Regions from separate parts of the Homo sapiens genome. Here all the other regions are linked to region 1. Evidence: promoter capture Hi-C in human tissues and cell types (Jung and others, 2019). All regions are on one chromosome and are shown on one strand. Each heading gives the region's core, a stretch centred on a gene start or on the middle of the fragment in contact. The rest is flanking DNA. Distances are from core to core; before and after follow the strand shown.

Region 1 (2,943 bases), core at 306-2,805:
CTGGAGCTCATGAAGCTCAGAGGATTGGGAATGGAAGTGGCAGGTTTAGGCTTGAATCAGAACTTCTGGATTTAGGAAAACAAAACAGGCCAGGCGCGGTGGCTCACACCTGTAATCCCAGCACTCTGGGAGGCCAAGGCGGGCAGATCAGGAGCTTGAGACCAGCCTGCCCAACGTGAGAAACCCTGTCTCTACTAAGAATAAAAAATTTAGCCAGGCATGGTGGTGGCACGCCTGTTAATCCCCGCTACTTGGGAGATTGAGGCAGGAGAATCGCTTGAACCTGGGAAGCAGAGGTTGCAGTGAGTCGAGATGGCGCCACTGCACTCCAGCCTGGGCCACAGAGCGAGACTCCGTCTCAAACAAACAAACGACAACAACAAAATGCAAACTCTGGCCAGGCGCGGTGGCTCATGCCTGTAATCCCAGCACGTTGGGAGGCCAAGGTGGGCGTATCACTTGAGGTCAGGAGTTCAAGACCAGCCTGGCGAACATGGTGAAACCCCATCTCTACTAAAAATACAAAAATTAGCCAGGTGTGGTGTCATGCACCTGTAGTCCCAGCTACTCAGAAGGCTGAGGCAGGATAATCGCTTGAACCTGGAAGACAGGTTGCGGTGAGCACAGATCGCGCCACTGCACCCCAACCTGAGCGACAGAACAAGACTTCATAAAAAAAAAAAAAACCCCACGCAGATTGCAGATTCCTGGGCCCCATCTTCGCCTTTCTGAATTGCAGCCTTTCACCCTTTAAGAATGAGAGGGTGAAATCTGCACGTCATACAAATAGCCCAGGGGCTATTAATCTGATGTTGCTCCCCAGCTCCCTCCAACACCGTCAGAGGGTGCACGGATTAGGCCTCTGCTGCGTGCAGAGAAGCATCCTAGGTGCTGCGTGGCTGTGCCAAAGCAGCAGAAACCGGTGGTGTGCCTTAAGATGCATGCTCCAAAGCTGTCCACAAGGCCTCTGGTACAGGCTTCCAGGTCTACGTCTCGGCTTCCCCGACAGTGTCCATGCGACACTGTCACCAGTTTCTCCTCTCACAAGCAGAAAATCAAATTCGGATTGGGCAAATGATTCCCTGCCCGGGTGTGGAATAAGGGTCAAGTCCTAAGTATGGAGAGAGAGCGCCGGCTCCCGCCAGGATATGCGAAGCTCTGGAGGGGAGGCCAAGCCACCAGGCACCCGGCGGGAGAAGAGGAGGCTGGAGAGCGCCGCCCAGTGCCTGCAGGCCGGGCGCTCCACGCCTCCCCTCCCTCCTGCACACCCCATTCCCCTCCGGTTGCCCCGCCTGGGAAGCCCCCTCCCCACACCTCCCGGCCCAGCATCTGCACGAGAGCCGCGAGCCCTGGCCCAGAGCTCTGGGTGGGCCTCTCACCCCAGACGGCGGCCGCAGCCCGTCCCTGATCACCGGCCGCCTGAGCCCTCCGTTCGCTCGGCGCGAGCGCCGCCACCCGTCCTTACCCCCATCCAGTCCGAGGCCAGCCCCGTAGGCTCCGAGCCTGCTCCGTGAAAAGCCTTTTCCCCAGGAGGAGAGTTACTGTAAAGCAAGAGGAAGCCGAGAAGAGGCGGTGGCTGCAGCGCGCGGGGCCCGGCGGGGGCGCGGGGGCGTCGGGGTACTGACTGGGCAGCGCGGTTTCCCCTCATCCCGGGACACGGTGCGGCGCTAGCGCCACCCAGCGGGCGCGGTGGGAATTGCGCTCCCTTCCTGCGCTGGGGCTCTGGACACACAGGCGACCAAGAATGACGCCTGCAGCCGGATAAACGCTCGGGGCAAGGCCGCTATCATCCCTCTGCCGGGAGTGAGTCAAGTCTCAGCAAAAGAAGAAGCCACTTTGGCCAAAATTCCAAGAGTGCTGATGAAGACGGTGACATCTGACATTTCAATGGCACTTTCCATTTCCCCCGGGGTGCGCATTCCGGGCCAGTGGAGCGCTGCGTCGCCTGTGCAGGACCTGGAGGTCTGCAGGACTGTGACCAGTCGGAGTCTCGGAGTCGTGGGTTAAACATTAGTCGGGAGCACTCGTTCATTCCCTGAGCTCCCCTTGCCCTTCACCCTTCGGTCCCGGAAGCCGGAAGGGAGACTGCCCCGCCCCTTGCCTGCCGCCCAGTGGCTCTCCCGGGGCCCTCTTGGCCCCTCTCTCCCAGCCCTCCATACAGTGAAGGGTTGTTTCCGCTGGTGACTTCCACCTGTGGGAGCAGAGAAAGGAAGCGGGGCAGAGGAGAAGGGGAAGGTGTCAGGCGATTCCCCTCCTTGCGCTGCAAGCCGGGTGGGAATAGAACACCTGCAGCCCTCCCCGGCGCCCTGCGAATGAGGTGGGAGTGGGAACGCCATCAGGGCAGAGCCCCTCCAGCTGGCTGGGGTCTGCACCTCCTCGCCAGCCCGGCCACCTCAAAACGGTGCTTGCCTCCCTGCGGGGGTGTAGAAGCCTCTTGGAGCAGCACTTGTAGAAAATCAAGTCCCTGGAAAGAAGCAAAATTAATCCGTTTGTTTCTCTATTTATTTTTGCTTCCCCACACCAGGTATTCACTTCATCCAAGGCTGCCCAATGTCACCTTCCACCCAGAGGAATCTCCCCTCTCCACCCCAGGCCAACAGCCTCTGCCTTCAGCTGTGGCCTCCACTCTGGCATTACTCTGGGCAGAGGGCTCAGGAGGGCTCAAGGAGGACCAGTGACATTCAGAGTGGCCAGAGTAAAGGGAGGGAGGGGGAGTGGTGGGAGAGGCGTGCAGAAGGCACAGGTGAGGTGGCGGAGGGGGGCAGGTGGTGGGGGGAGCGGGCTGGGGTGGGATGGGCCTGTCAGCATAGCAAGGGCTGTGATGGGCTTGAGTCTGACAGGGGGCAATGACCTGACCTACGGTTTTGTAAGATCACTCTGGCTGCCACCTGGAGAGCTGGTGTGGGGATGATGGCCATGGTAGACACAAGGGGAGCAGTTAGG
Region 2 (2,943 bases), core at 210-2,709, 800 kb before region 1:
TTCTCATACTATATATGATTTAGTTCCTAGGTTCATACGGAACACATAGAATCATTTAAATCTAATGTTCATCTAAACAGCAATCAGTAAGCCCCACCCCCCTTACCCTACTAGAATGTCATGAGAAAATTCTATGGTCATGAAGACCAGAGAGAGTGCTAACACTAGAGAGCTGTTTGGTGGTTACCATAAATGGCAAAATTATCCAGGGTGAGATGGTGGCTACCTCAAAGTCCTGGTATCCCTATATATGCTTCTTGCTCCCAATATTAAGATCAGATGAATGAAATCAGGTATCTAAAATCTGCAATCCACACTTAAAGTTTCTTTGAGAAAAAAGGTGGTAGACTTGGAGTGTTGCCAAAAACAACTCAAAGAGAGCTTTAGGTAGGGTTAAAGAATGCTATGAGCCATTCTGACTCTAATTCTATAGCTTAATTCCAACTTTAGAAGCATAAGGATACTATCTGAAGCAAAATTAACACCTTTCAAAACTAAAGAGGGAAAAGTTATTTCCCTCATGAACTGCTCAATTGTCTTAAATGGAATAATTTGCTGAGGTCATTCCTACAGAACTAGACGGTCCATTTCAAATGAATGAACACTCAGGGAAGTCTCATGGTGTGCTCTGAACAAACAGTTTCCTACTGGAATCACCAATATATCCTTGCAGGATCCAGCAGAAACCATGTGCTTATGTTAAGGGAGCAGATATTAGAGACAGAAGAAAACACAAGGTTATGCTAGTTATATCTGTAACCGAATTTCAGAAAATACTGGCAAAACTTGTAGAAAAGAAAATTATTTCACAATGTTTGTGTGAAAGGCTGGTGACATTAGCCAACAATGTCAAAATACTAATAATGAAGAAGTTAATAAAATGTAAAAAGAAAGCTAAGTCTAAGTATATACTACCTTATAGAACATCCTGTCACCAAAGCGTAACATCTCAGCAAAGGCATTGAGCCAGCAGTGCAAAAAGGCAAAAAAAGTAAGGAAGAGAATCAGCACACCTAAAAATAAGATTAACAATATTAACAGTCTTTCCAAATAGCTCACATACCAAGCAACTAATTATATCACATCATTTTATTTAGCTGGGATTATTTTGTAAAATATAAGTTATTATTCCAGTTTACCCATTCCAGAGATGATATACTTTTGGAGTTAATTATCTTAATTTTAAAACAGTAACTTCCTTCAAAGTGGGTTCAACAAATGACATTACCCAGTCTGGTTTTTTTTTTTCTTTTTTGAGACAGAGTCCTGCTCTGTCACCCAGGCTGGAGTGCAGTGGCGCGATCTCGGCTCACTGCAACCTCTGCCTCCAGGGTTCAAGCAATTCTCCTGCCTCAGCCTCCCAAGTAGCTGGAACTACAGGCATGTACCACCACATCTGGCTAATTTTTTGTATTTTTAGTAGAGACCGGGTTTCACCATGTTGGCCAGGCAGGTCTCAATCTCCTGACCTTGTGATCTGCCCACCTCAGCCTCCCGAAGTGCTAGGATTACAGGCGTGAGCCATCGCGCCCAGCCTACCCAGTCTGTTTTTAAGAAATGCCTAAATATATGGCTTAACTTAGTACCCAAGGTCCTTTAAAAATCTGGCCCCCATACCCCCCTCTTAAACAATTGTTTAAAACTGGGAGAGATTTTGCCCCCTCTCCCCCACAGGACATTTGAAATTCTAGAGACTTTTTGTTTTTAAAAGACAGGGTTTCACTATGTTGCCCAGGCTGAACTTCAACTCCTGGGGCTCAAGTGATCCTCCCACCTCAGCCTCCAGAATAGCTGGGACTACCGGTGCAAGCTACTGCACCAGTGCTGTGACAATTGGAGGAGAGGGAGTGGTGCCACTGGTATCTAGTTGTTAGAGGCCAGGATGCTGCTGAACAGTTTATGCTACAATGCAGAAGAATGCCACTCCAAACAAAGAATTAACCAGTCCAAAATGTTAATAGTGACATGGTTAACATAGTGACATGGATAACATTCTAAACATATCTCCAGTGATTCTACCCTCTAAGTGTTGTAAACATTATCCACAACTGGGTTTATGCCATTCCAGAATGCTCCATGCCCTTGCATCCATCCCACTACCTAGAATGACCTTTCCACCAATTCTCTGCCAGGCAAATACCTACCTATTTTTCAATACCCAATATTAAATGTTATCTCTAATGTGAAACAAAGGCCATAAGCATTTTGTTTATCCTACTTATGTAGTACATATTACAATATATTGTAAAATATCCATTTATATGTCCATCTCTTTCACTCATTTATTGAAAAATATATATTTATAGAGCATCAACTATGTACCAGACAATATGAGAGAGACTGTGATTGGCTATAAAACACAATCCTTGAACTCAATAACTTTGCAGCTAGTGAGGAAGACACTCAAGTATGTAACACATATTCTATTTTAGGGACAGATACAGAGTTCATTCAAATAAGTCCTGGGGCTGGTGAGGGAGGGTTACTGGAAGAGGAATGCAAGAGAAGAAAAGAAAGGGAAGGTGATGACAGAAAACATTACCAACATTCAATGAGTAAAGAAAAGAGGAAAAGTAAGGGAAACTATAAAAGCTCCCAGACTGTAAAGATAATACATCTCTTGTTCACTTCTGAGTCCTCTGCACCTGGCATAGTACTAGGTACTCATATATCTCTATAATAGACAAAAAAATGCAATAAATATATTTAAGAAATCAAGGTATGGTCGGAAAGACAGGAGGAAAATAAGAAATAGTGGCAAAAGGCCAAGCATGGTGGCTCAAGCCTGTAACCCCAGCACTTTGAGAGGCTGAGACAGGAGGATAACTTGAGCCCAGGAGTTTGAGAATGGCCTGGGCAACATAGGGAGACCCCGTCTCTCCAAAAAATAAAAACTTAGCCAGGCATGGTGGCATGCACCTGTAGTCCCAGCTACTGAGGCGA
Region 3 (2,943 bases), core at 220-2,719, 580 kb before region 1:
AACAGATATTACCATGAAGCACAAACTTGGGGGCGGTCAGTATGGAGAGGTTTACGTTGGCGTCTGGAAGAAATACAGCCTTACAGTTGCTGTGAAAACATTGAAGGTGGGTTGCTGAGAATTACAGTTTTCAGGCATCTTTTTCTTTTGTGCTCAATCACTTGGAAATATCAGCATGCCCTTCTTTAACTTTGGAACACTTTCCACCCACTAGTGCCAAGCACATCAGCAAATTGAGATGATTAACCCTAGTGCCATTGCTGACAATGCAGAGGTAGATTATTCACTGCAATGCAGTGAAACCCACATGTGGGAAAGGTCTGTCTCTGGAGGCTGTTGATGTAGATCTTAGTGGGAGGTTAGAAGCAAATTAAAAGTTATAAAAGCAAAATAAGCTCTTTTGCTTCCTGAGAACGACCCCTGCTGGACAGAATTCTTGTCTGAGAGTCATGGGCCTCTTTCTTGTTCTGTCCTTTCTCTCCCTTGTTCTTGTTCCTCCTGTCTCTTTGCAGTTAGATCACTTCTTAATATTAACAGAAATCTTTTTCGTAGTACTACTATATGTCTCCTTTAAACATCCCAGTATCAAATTATAAGGTTTTCACTCACTTGATTCTCCCAGAGCCTCAGTAACTGTCTCTGGTGTATCACTTATAAGGGCTATTCTTTAGCTATTAAGTAGTAGTCAGTTCTGTTTCTTAAGCATATTCTGAGTGTGAAGCAATATATAAGGCCTTGCTCTCTAAGAAGATTATGATCTAAGCAAGAAGATAAGTATGTAAGCAGCTAAGTGCTCTGTCTCGTCATTCAAAGCCTGAGATATCTGGAGAAGTAAACTATGAGAGAACTGAACTATCCAATACAGGGCTCCTGTGTTTCAGTTGATTATAGGACACGATTGCTGAATTTTGCTCCTCCTGCTAATTTTTACTCCAGGGCATTTTTCTTTCTAAGTTGGACTTCTTAAAATAATAATTATTTCAGCTGGGCGTGGTGGCTCACACCTGTAATCCCAGCAATTTGGGGAGCTCAGGTGGGCGAATCACCTGAGGTCAGGAGAGCATCCTGGCCAACATTGCAAAACCCCGTCTCTACTAAAAATACAAAAAGTAGCCAGGCATGGTCGTGCATGCCTGTAATCCCAGCTACTTGGGAGGCTGAGCCAGGAGAATCGCTTGAGCCCAGGAAGCGGAGGTTGCAGTGAGATCACACCACTTCACCCCAACCTGGGTAACAGAGCGAGACCGTGTCTCAAAAAAATAAATTAAATTAAAATAATAATTATATCTTGTAATATGCTAAAATATTCAAAAGATAGTTTTTACTTTTAAAGCTGAAGCTTTATGATTGTGAGATGAATGAAATGATTTTAAGTTGAGGGTTTGTCCCTCTCGTTTTCTTCTTTCTTACCTTTCCCTTTTTCTAGGAAGATACCATGGAGGTAGAAGAATTCCTGAAAGAAGCTGCAGTAATGAAGGAAATCAAGCATCCTAATCTGGTACAACTTTTAGGTGAGGAACCTTGCCTGAACCATAGATTTCCTCCAAAAATGCTTGCCCTTTAACCCCTTGTTATCTCCAAATGCTTTTTTTTTTTCTTTTTAAATATAGAGACAGGGTCTCGCTCTGTTGTCCAGGCTGCTGTTGACGTGATACTTCCGCCTGGGCCTTTCAATATGTTGGGATTACAGGCATGAGCCACCATGCCCCGCCTTTTTTCCTCCCCCAAACCTTTCTTTTTAGTCACCATGGTGGAAGCTGCAGGTTTGAATCCACTTCAATAAATAGTTATTTTAATCAGTAGGTTCTGTGTTTAAAAATAGCCCAAGAAACAGTGGCCTGGATTGATTTTGGTGTATAAAACTGCTCAGTTTGTACTAATTGCCCCAGATTCAAAGTTCAGAAGTGTTCAAAATGGTACTGAACCAAAAACTCATGAAATGTTTTTGCAAAATAAAGAGACATTAAACAAAGGACTGTTGAAAAGAAGCAAATTAAAAACTGTGACCACACCCCTCAGTTTACCTTTACAAGCAGGAAATGCTTTATTATGTTAGATTGGCTTTTCACTGTTCAGGTCACAAAGAACTCTCTTACTAAGCCTTTTTCCTTTTTTAAAATAGGGCCAGGTTTTTTTTTTTTTCTTTTTTTTGGGGGGGTGTGGGGGGTGTTTTTTTTTGTTTGTTTTTTAAATACAGAGTCTTGCTCTGTCACCCTGGCTGGAGTGCAGTGGCATGATCCTGGCTCACTGCAACCTCCACCTCCCAGGTTCAAGCTATTCTCGTGCCTCAACGTGCATCACCACGCCCAGCTAATTTTTGTAGTAGAGACAGGGTTTTGCTATGTTGGACAGTCAAGTCTTGAACTGCTGGGCTCAGGCGATCTGCCTGCCTCAGCCTCCCAAAGTGCTAGGATTACAGGCATGAGCCACTGCACCCGGCCTCTTGTTGGTTTTTTATAAGGAATCTGCCATATATCAGTGAAATCCTTGACTATGGAAATGATGAAAATCATTTTGCAAAGCAGTATTGCAGGTGGGGCTCACATAGTCTTCAGCTTGTGCACAATTGCTATTACTTTTGAATAAGTATTGTTAGCCTGCAGTTGAGGAGGAGAATCATGGGCCATGTGCAAAACTCTAGACATGTTGGTTTTCTTGGCCCCTTATAGAATTAATACAGGTAACTCTGCTTTTGCTCAAATAGACAAATACTCAGAGGCATATGAATTCCCAGAGAACAATACAGTGAAAGCAAGGACTCCCTTATAAACCAGCTTCTTAGTTTTTGCTTATTAATTTCAGAGAACGTGGTGGTAAGAAGGGAAAAGATTATTGCCGAACTAGACCTGAAAAATTGTCAAATTATTCTTGGCCAAAGTGGTTTGGAGTGTTTGAATGTACACTAATAAAAACAAGCACTATTGTTCAACTTTTAGGTGTGTG

Evidence for each region. Contacts are between HindIII fragments. The study calls those that stand out against the background at their distance.
Region 2: a contact is called between a fragment that was not itself captured here and the fragment with the promoter of C1orf220 in region 1, in 1 of the 25 tissues and cell types used here (spleen).
Region 3: a fragment that was not itself captured here is called in contact with the fragment with the promoter of C1orf220 in region 1 in 2 of the 25 tissues and cell types used here (aorta and hippocampus).

The regions. Positions count from the first base shown.
Region 1 is chr1:178,541,408-178,544,350 of GRCh38, reverse strand. It overlaps C1orf220 (chromosome 1 putative open reading frame 220), which reads right to left and starts at 1,555. Exons shown (of 3, transcript NR_033186.1): 1 at 1,466-1,555. LOC124904460 (a long non-coding RNA gene) reads left to right here and starts at 1,706. Exons shown (of 2, transcript XR_007066748.1): 1 at 1,706-2,317; 2 at 2,525-2,943. RefSeq lists silencers at 1,321-1,390, 1,421-1,750 and an enhancer at 1,801-1,860. The HindIII fragment of the contact is 22,776 bases long and covers 1-2,943 here.
Region 2 is chr1:179,345,670-179,348,612 of GRCh38, reverse strand. SOAT1 (sterol O-acyltransferase 1) reads right to left here. Exons shown (of 16, transcript NM_003101.6): 12 at 916-1,013. Among named protein-coding and RNA genes, the nearest start is that of AXDND1, 19 kb to the left of the region's middle. The HindIII fragment of the contact is 9,338 bases long and covers 1-2,943 here.
Region 3 is chr1:179,118,758-179,121,700 of GRCh38, reverse strand. It overlaps ABL2 (ABL proto-oncogene 2, non-receptor tyrosine kinase), which reads left to right. Exons shown (of 12, transcript NM_007314.4): 5 at 1-106; 6 at 1,427-1,511; 7 at 2,937-2,943. Among named protein-coding and RNA genes, the nearest start is that of TOR3A, 38 kb to the right of the region's middle. The HindIII fragment of the contact is 4,159 bases long and covers 1-2,943 here.